Linked DNA regions of Homo sapiens: region 2 is linked to region 1. The links are contacts of gene promoters, found by promoter capture Hi-C in human tissues and cell types (Jung and others, 2019). All regions are on one chromosome and are shown on one strand. The core of a region is centred on a gene start or on the middle of the fragment in contact, and the rest is flanking DNA. Distances in the headings are between cores, read along the strand shown.

Evidence for each region. The method cuts DNA at HindIII sites, captures the fragments that hold promoters and counts their contacts. A contact is called where the count stands out against the background at its distance.
Region 2: a contact is called between a fragment that was not itself captured here and the fragment with the promoter of CT62 in region 1, in 1 of the 25 tissues and cell types used here (mesenchymal stem cells).

What each region holds. Positions count from the first base shown.
Region 1 is chr15:71,113,267-71,118,111 of GRCh38, forward strand. CT62 (cancer/testis associated 62) reads right to left here and starts at 2,238. Exons shown (of 4, transcript NR_168260.1): 1 at 1,658-2,238; 2 at 365-497. THSD4 (thrombospondin type 1 domain containing 4) reads left to right here and starts at 2,205. Exons shown (of 18, transcript NM_024817.3): 1 at 2,205-2,432. RefSeq lists silencers at 2,019-2,068, 2,105-2,282, 2,129-2,188, 2,219-2,358, 2,509-2,598. The HindIII fragment of the contact is 8,632 bases long and covers 1-4,845 here.
Region 2 is chr15:72,146,691-72,151,535 of GRCh38, forward strand. No RefSeq gene overlaps it. Among named protein-coding and RNA genes, the nearest start is that of SENP8, 31 kb to the left of the region's middle. The HindIII fragment of the contact is 6,726 bases long and covers 1-4,845 here.

The sequences.
Region 1 (4,845 bases), core at 988-3,487:
GGTCAAAACAATTTGACCAAGGTTGAAAATGGACTGGAATCACTTCTAAGGAGCCAGCCTAGGTCTGTCGAATCAAGTTTGCTCACTAATAATCATACTTTGGTTATGTCGGATGTTAACATTAGAGGAAGAGGGTGGGGGATATAAGGGGATTCTTTGTACTATTTGTGAAACTTGTCTAAAATTATTTCAAAATTAAAAAATAACAAACAAAACCACATCCTTTGCTCCTGAGCCCTGTTCGCCCCAGACATTATGTGATGAACTCACTCCGTTCTTTAAGATCCAGCTCTGCAGAGCATCTCAGATTCCCTGTCCTGAGGCAGGTACTCCTGTATGAGCTCTTAAATACTTCTGCATTTACCTACCACCTACTGGTATGGTTTTCTGACTATATTTCATCTTCTTCGCCTCACGTGGAGTTTCTTTTAGAATGGAAAGTTTTCTTCCTTTCCTCTTTGAATCCTAGCACCAAGGCCACACTCGGCACTGAATACCTGTCTCGAATGAATGAATAAATCAATCTTGTTTGAACAAATCTTATTAGTTTTGCTTTTTTAAAATTATGGTAAAATGTACATAACATAAAAATTTCCATTTTAACCATTTTTAAGTGTATAATTCAGTGACATTAAGTACATTCTAAAGTTGCGCAGGTTTTTTTTTTTAAATCAGTTCTAAATGGTTTAAACTGGCCAGTATTTACTAGAGCTGTTAGATCGACTTAATTTGGACCCATGAGACTCGTGACACTCAGAATTAATCTAATCCCATTTACACCAGGTGCCTCCCATCAAAATCTGTTTGATCAAGTGTGGAATTATTTCATCCCATTGGAACCAGCTCTTGAATCAATCAGAACTGGCTCTGCCAGGCTCCGGGCCAGTAGTCGGTGCTCAAAATGGTGTTTCTTTCTTTGGCCTAATCTCTTGAGTAGCCTCTTTCCCTTTTGTTAATTTTTTTTTTTTTCTGGAGGACAATCTTCCCTGGGAGCTCCCTTCTGCTCCCACGAAGCGCTCTGCACCCAGCCCTGGTGCTGCCTGGCTCTGGGGCAGGGAGCTTGCATTCTGCCACCTCCTTCATTGTCCTCTCGGTATACCTGCACTTTCAAAACAACCCCTGCAGGCAAGCTTTAGAGGCAGCGATAAACAAACAGGCTGACTGAAATTTAGGGAAACGCCTGTATCTGGACAGCCTCTTCAAATATTTGTCACCCCCTCCCTGCTCTGGGGAAAGAAGAGACAGTTCCTCACAGTCACTCTATTTCCTGCCTTCCCAGCTCTGAACACCTTGGCTCGAATGTAAAGAATTTGGCTCTGAATTAGGACTCAAGAAACGGGGCCCTAGCAATTTTCCCTCCATTAACTAAACGCGTCACTTTGGTCATGCCCTTTTGGGGGCAATAATTTCCCAATTCGTAAAATGAAGGGATCAAAGTTTGATTTTTATCATTACTAATGAGAAGAATTATTATTTTTTTGCAGCAGGCTTTTTTTTCCCCAACAAAATATTACTCTGAATAAGACAAGAAAGAATCCCGAACGGCTCTGGCCGTCAGGGTGTGTGTGTCTCCTCCCCATGCTGTCTAACCCCCGTTGGAATTTGGAGGGCTCTTGTCCTTTCCCCTTGGCCTCAGAAGGAGCCCAGCGCGTCCTACCTTGCGTGGGAGTGTGTGTGTGACCAGGGCTCCTTCCTGCCCTTAGAGTCACCGCCCCCTTCTCGCACAGGTTTACAGCACCACTTGCCTCGCCCACTCCCCGCTTTGCCTCCGCCCCATCCTGATGCTGCCGGAATGGCTGTTCCAAATGGAAGGATGCCCGCGTCCGTCCCCTGCCCCAGTCCTTCAACAGGTCCCCACAGACCTCAGGATAAGATGAACGCGGAATTCAGGGCCTGGTCTCAACCGCCCTCTCCCTTTTCCTCTCACTTAGACGACCCTGGCCAGCTGGGCCACTCTCCACTCTCGCCCCCTCCCGCCCTCGTGGCCTCTGTCTAGACCGTACTCCCTCCTACTGGGTGATGTCTCTTCCCCTGGGACCCAGGGACCATCCCGTTGTTGACCTCCGGGGTCAGGGGTGCGGATGGGGGCCGGCCCTTCCCGCGGTCGCCGCCAGGGGGCGGCAGGAGCGGCTCCAGATGACAGCGGGAGGCCGCAAGAGGGGAGGGAGGAAGGACCGAGGGAGCGCGGATCCCGCTCTCGGATCGCAAACTCTGAGCCAGAGCTCTCCGCGCGCGCCTGAACCGCTGGCCGCCCGCGCAGCCCGACGCGGAATCGGGGCACAGCGGGAGCCCGTGCAGGGCGGGCGCGGGGCGGCTGGGCGGCGGTGGCGGCCGTCCATGCGGCGGCGCTCGGGGCTGCCCGGCGCCGGGAACCACGCGGGGGCGAGGCGAGGCGAGGCGGCCGCCGGTCGCTCCGGGACGCGGACCGCCAGGTGAGCAGAGCCGCGCGCCCCGCGTCCCCTGCGCGCCGCCCGCGCGGCCCCGACCCGGCTTCCGCTGCCCAGGCTCCGGCTCCCGCTCTCTGGCCGGCGGGGCGGGCTGGCGCGGGCTACCCAGTGGGTGTGTCCGGGGCGCCGCGGGCTGCGCCGCTCCGGGCTCGGGGAGCCAGCGCGCGCCTGGTCCGTGCGGACGGCTGCGCCTCCTTCTCTGGTTCTCTTCCTTGCTGGGAGTCTTGCTCTGTGCTGGCGCCGGCGCTCATCCCTCCACCCTCGACTCTAGGGACAGTCTTAAACTCTAGGGACAATCCACCTCAGTCGTCCCCGGGTCGGGGCCCCGTGCTCCCCGGGTCGGGTCGGAGGGGACCGGCGAGTGCACACCCAGCCCGTGCGCCCCCCACCTCAGCCTCGCCTCCCTCCCGCCTGGGGCCCGAGAGCCGGGCAAGTCTCGGTCAGCGCTCCTTGAGTCCTGGCCTGGGGCCTCGGATCTGTGTGTCTGTCTGTCTCAGTTTAGTTGCTGCAACCCAGCGAGCGCCTGGAGCCCGAGTGGATGGGTTGTTTCCGCCAACTCTGGACACTTCCTCAAGTGCAGCCTAAGTACCTGCGGCCCCTTGGCGCACTTACAGAAGTAGCTTTTGCACAGCGAGCTCACCTTGGAGCTCTACAGATCTGGAAGTTAAGTTTTCTTTTTATTTGAAATAACATCAGCCCTCACTTGGGAAGGGGATTTTAGGGCGTTCTCGGGCCCACCTAAGTATCTGGAATTTGTGGTCTAGTAAGTTTTTTAAGCAGTCCGCACCCAGCACCGTACCTCCCAGCCTCCTTTGCCGTCTTACTAAAAGTGCATGCTTGCTTCTCTTCCTGTCTCCTTTGCGATCTCTACCACGCTGCGCTTCGCCCTTTTCGGGCTATGAGTCTAAAGCTTGGACGTGGGTAGCAATCATTGGATGCCTGTTGGAATTTGGAATTAGAGAAATAGATACCCGAGAGAGATCTAAGGAATCGCCTTGTCCAACCCTCCTTTCACAGTTGGAGGCACCCAGGACCCCTGACAGTCTGAAGATTTTTCAAGGATCACACAGCTTTTAAAATCCGCGTGTCTTCTACTTGATTAATATTGTTGGAGGTGATGGAGTAACTGGGCTTACTAGGGTCTTACTGGGTCTCAATATACAAAGAAGCAAACATTTTAAAAATGTGACTTAAAATACGGAACTCTTCAATTCCTATAGATTTTTGTTGGCATCATAGTTGAATTCCTTTAGAAAACAAAATCCTAGCCCTGAAATTAATGTGAGGAAGCAAGCAGATGGGCGTCCTGGGACTTTCCTATAAATCTCTGCAGGGCTGGAGCAGGGATTTCCCAGAGGTCTGGGCCTGGGAAATGAGTTTGGGTGATCAGGATACTGGAGCCCCTTCTGAATAAGCAACTGGGTTGGTTTCTTGTGGGGAGGCTGGCCAGTGGAACTCATGTGATCTCCTCTGTGCCCAGCACTGGGCGGGGCACCAGCTTGGCATTACCTTCTTTTTAGTCTCCTATGCCATAAAGAAATATTTCTTACTGGCTGTTAGCGAAAGAAAAATACAGCCCAGAGTTTGGGAGGAAGATCAGGGGTGGGGAGATTTTTGACTTGGAGTTTGTTTTTGTTTTTGCCTCGAAAAACTTGTGGAGATTGCAATCAGTTATCCTACACAGAGGCTGTGTATTGCCGTCTTCTCCATCCCCCACATTTCTCTCCATGGTACCACTTTTATCCTAATTGCTGGGAGTCTCAATGTTTAAATGTTCCCAACACTCCCATTCTGTCCCCCACATTTATAGCTCATTCATCGCAAAATCTCTTCCACATTCTTTTGTGATATCTGAGGAATTATTTACCTGTCTCCATTCCCACTGCCCCCACCTTCAACCATGTCCAAATTACAGTAATAATCTCCCCTCTTGACTCCCAGCCACGAGTTGCTTTCTTCATTTTAATCCATCTTCTTTCATGCTGATAGATTAATATTTCTGAAATTCTGATTTCACCACATCATTTCTCTCAAGAAATCACAATGGCTCCCCAGTATTCACTTCTATTTAATTTATCTCCAACAGATATTTCTGAGCGTCTGCTATGTGCCAGGGACTGTTACTATGTGCCAGGGACTGTTACTATGTGCTGGAGCTTACGCTATGAACAAGACAATATCATTGCCTTCAGGGAGTCCACAGGCTAGCAGATGATAAATAACCACCCAGGGGAGAAAGGGAAGTAAAGAAATAACCGCAATACAAGGGGGATGTGCAAAACATCAAGGAGATGCGAATGAGGGAGAAATTGATTCTGCATGGGAGGAGCTAGGGCAGTTACCACTGGGCTTTGAAGCCTAAGGAGGAGTTCAAGGAGATGGGAAAGGCTGGTGGGGA
Region 2 (4,845 bases), core at 1,078-3,577, 1.0 Mb after region 1:
TAGGCTCCTCAAACCCAACAAACCCCCAAACTGCTCTTGCCTTATCAAACTTGCTCCATCAGTGTTCCCCACCTCGGAAAATGGCACCACTGTGCAACCCAGCTCCAGCCAGAAATCTAGGAGTCATCCTTGACTTTCCTCTCACTTTGCATTTATCAGCCTCCTAGTCCTGTTGCTCTACATCTTAAGAATCCTTTAAATCCATGTATTTCTATTGCCAATGCTACCACTCTAGTCCAGACAATCATGCCCTCTCATCTGGGTTGCTAGACTAGCTTATAAAGGACTCTTCAGTGTTCACTTATACTCTTCACCCCCACTCCATTTTATATTCTGCCAATATCTTTAAGAAAGCTCTGTATAACCTGGTCCCTTCCCACTTTCCCTGCCTCTTTGCAATCTATACCACTCTTGCCTTAGCTTCCTGTGTTCCAGCCCTGCAGGCCTTCTTTTAGTTCCTCAAACACACACTTTCTTTTCTCCCTTTCCAGTCTCCCCATTTGCTGTTCCCTCCTGCACTCTCTCCCATAGTCCTCAACAGATAATCTTCTATGTCATCTCTTCCTCAAAGAAATCATCCCCAGTGCATCTGACTAATTTGCTTTCCTTGTTAATTCCTCAGAATCATGAATCCTTTCAGTGTGCCCAAATCACATATGATTTTTGGTGTTGTGTCCTTCCTTCCCACTAAATCACAAGAGCCATGGAGGCCGGGAACCATGTCTGACTCGTTCACTATTGAATCCATGCAGTTTCATACAGTGCCTGGCACATAAACATTGTTATTTGTTGAATGGATAAATGAGAACATAGAAGCTGTTTATCAAAGAAAAAACAGCCCATCATCCTCCCTGGCATAGCAGCAGAAGTCAAAATGCAACATTAATCAGTAGAACTATTCATGCTTGCTTAAGACCAAGCTCAGAGGTTGATGAACTTAAGCAACCTAACAGAAAATAGGGAACTCCCTAAACTTGTACATCTAACTGTGGACATCTCTTCAGTTTATCTGCTGACTTCTTAGAGATTTTCACATTTTACATCGTTGTAATCCATGTCTAAGCACTATCTTAATTCTGCTTTTTACAAATTTCCACCTTAATCACTGTTTACTTGTGCTTAAAGGTAACATTGGGTTACATTATATTTATAGATTGTGATTTTCTTAGCCAATTCCCCACTGCCGGGCTTTTTGGTTAGTTCTGATTTGAGATTGTTATGAATAGCAGTGCTACAAACATTCTTCATAAGTAACTTATTTCACATGTTCTCCTTGAATACAAAGTGGGATTAAGATTTCAAAACATATGAACAGTTTATATCCTATCATGTAGACAGCCAGAGATTTGTCTAAAAAGAAAGAATCAATATATAGTACCATTAAAATTCTATGATACAAACCTATCTCTAGTTCTGTATAGCCCTACCAACACTGAGGGTGGGTTGTTTTGTTTTTTTAGAGATAGGGTCTTGCTGTGTCACCCAGGCTGGAGTACAGTGGTAAAATCATAGCTCACTGCAGCCTCGAACTCCTGGGCTCAAGCAGTCCTCTCCTGCCTCAGCCTCCCAAGTAGCATGGACTACAGGGACACACCACCACACCCGGCTAACTTTTTTTTTTTGAGACAGGGTCTTGCTGTGTTGCCCAGGCTGGTCTTGAGCTCCTGGCTCAAGTGATCCTCCTGCTTCCCAGAGTGCTGGGATTATAGGTATGAGCCACCACACCTGGCCAACATTAGGTTTTGCATTTGCTACATTTATTTCTTGGAACTTAACAGAAAACTAATATCTGTTGAGCTATTTCTGTGTGTCAGAAACTTCAAGGATTTGACATGACGTTTCCCATTTAACAAATTACCATAAACCTGTAAGTACTATTAGTATCCCCCTTTTAGAGATGAGGAAACTAAGGCTTAGAGTTGTCCAAGTAAATTGGAAGAGTTTAAATGTAGATGTACTGATTCCAGAACCTGTATTCTTAACTACTATGCTGTACTCTCTCTCCTGGTTGTCAGTGACAGTGTTTTTTCTGTTATATTTAACAGACAGGAAAAATTATTAATAAAATCTGTAACCTTTCTGATTTCCAAGAATGTGGTATAATTTATTGCTAGTGAGCTTGTTTCATTGAGGTAAACATCCAGATGGAGCTTTTTGGTTAAGAAAGGTCAACTCCCAGGGTTTAACACGTGTAGGCCAGGACAATACAAGAGAGATCAGTTACTCCAAATAATAAAATCAAATAAATTTGGATTTTCACTGGATGCCCTAGAGAAAGAGAATGAGGCCTAGGAAAGAAAGAAGTAGGGAAAGGTTAACGAAGAGAACTGAGATGAGAAGCATTCCAGAAACATGGCAGGAGACAGGGGCCTACTGGAAGACATGGCCATGGAGAAGCTCCCTACTGTAGTAGAGAATGGCTGCTAAATTTCTTTAAGCAATCATCTATGTATTGAGTTTGAAGTTTTCTGCTTTGTGATATAGCCTTCCATTAACTAAACCTTTCATGCAATTTGGATATACTCAACCATTTTGGTGGTGGATCATTTGGAGGAATGAAGGATGAGGAGTGGCACATGATGAGGCAAAAAGGAAATAGCCAAAGGAACAGGGGACGGGACAAGCAGGCTGCATCCCATCTGCAGGAGACACAGAAGCAACCTTAAAAACCCTTGGAGAAACTGAGGTCTCAGGACTTCCCACAGTGGTTAGAAATGGGTCTCAGGCCATTTCAAATTGAAAGAATGACCCCTAAACACTAAATTATTTGGGGTTGTCCAAGTTTGGAAATTTCTGGGTTACACTGAAGTGAGAAAGAGCTTGAACCACAGTAAAATAAATTTGATGTATTAGCAGCATTTGTCATAGCCTTTGCCTTGATGTATCATGAAATAATTAGCTTCGGCTGGGCGCCGTGGCTTACGCCTGTAATCCCAGCACTTTGAGAGGCCGAGGCGGGCAGATCACGAGGTCAGGAGATTGAGACCATCCTGGCTAACACGGTGAAACCCTGTCTCTACTAAAAATACAAAAAAAAATTAGCCGGGCGTGGTGGTGGGCTCCTGTAGTCCCAGCTTCTGGGGAGGCTGAGGCAGGAGAATGGCATGAACCTGGGAGGCGGAGCTTGCAGTGAGCCAAGATCGCACCACTGCACTCCAGCCTGGGCAACAGAGTGAGACTCCATCTCAAAAAAATAAATAAATAAAATAAAGAAATAATTAGCTTCCAGGACACCAGACTCTTCTGGTTTTCCTCCTTCCTCATCAGGCATCCTTAGTTTCCTTTTCCTAGTTCTTCCTTTTCTTCCTGATCTTTTATTAACAGTGTGTGACAGGGTTCACTCGTCCACTCTTTCTTCTGTCTACAGACTCAGTCCCTTGATGATCTCATCCAGCAGCATGCTTTTAAATACCATCCATATGTTGACAGCTCCCAGATTTATTTTTTTATTTTATTTTATTTATTTATTTTTATTTTATTTATTTATTTATTTATTTTTGAGACGGAGTCTTACTCTGTCACCAGGCTGGAGTGCAGTGGCATGATCTCAGCTCACTGCAACCACTGCCTCATGGGTTCGAGTGATTCTCCTGCCTCAGCCTCCCAAGTAGCTGAGACTACAGTCGCATGCCACCACGCCCAGCTAATTTTTGTATTTTTAGTAGACACGGGGTTTCACCATGTTGGCCAGGATGGCCTTGATCTCTTGACCTCATGATCTGCCTGCCTCGGCCTCCCAAAGTGCTGGGATTACAGGTGTGCGCCACCATGCCCAGCCAACAGCTCCCAGTTTTGTTTTGTTTTTTTTGAAATGGAGTCTTGCTCTGTTGCCCAGGCTAGAGTGCAATGGTGCAGTCTAGGCTCACTGCAACCTCCACCTCTCGGGTTCAAGCGATTCTCCTGCCTCAGCCTCCCAAGTAGCTGGGACTGCAGGCATGTGCCACCATGCCCAGCTAATTTTTTGTATTTTTAGTAGAGATGGGTTTTCACCATGTTAGCCAGGATGGTCTCGATCTCCTGACCTCATGATCTGCCCGCCTCGGCCTCCCAAAGTGCTGGGATTACAGGCATGAGCCACCATGTCCAGCCAACAGCTCCCAAATTTATATCTCCCAGACTTCAGACATCTCTCCTGAACCCCAGACTCATATACCCTATTGCCCACTTGACATCCCCACCACTTGGATGTCCAAAATTCATCTCAGACTGAATATGTCCAGTACTACATTTCTGATTCTCCTTCCAAAAGCTTTACCACTCATGGCTTTCTCCACCTCCATTCTTTCAAGCCAAAAAACATGAAGTCATCCTTATGACTCCTTTTCTGTTATACCCCATATCCAATTTAACAGGCAGTCCTGTCGTTTGTACGTTCAGAATATATCCAGAATCTGCATGTTTCCACCATCTCTACTACTGCCCTAGTCATCAGAGTCATTGTCCTCCCTAACTTGTAAGGGAGGCTGTCTCCTAACTGATCTCCCTGCTTCCACCTTTCCCTCCCTAGCAGTCAAGTTTGATTCTTTTGAAATCTGAATAACAAAAGATTATTATTCACTTATCTACTCATTTCATTGGGAGTCAAAGCCAAAGTTCTTATAATGGTCTTAGATGATTTCCCAGCCCTCCCCCTTTGACTTCATCTAGTTCTGCCCCTTCTTCTTCTCTCTCTTCCAGCTACACCTGCATCCTTGCTGTTCCTGAACAAGCCAGCCAGGCACCCTCCCTTCCACTTTAGACTTGTTGCATTGGCTATTCACTCTACCTGGAATGTTCCACAAACCTTATTCTCTCATTTCTTTTTTTTTAAGACAGAGTCTCACTCTGTCGCCCAGACTGGAGTGC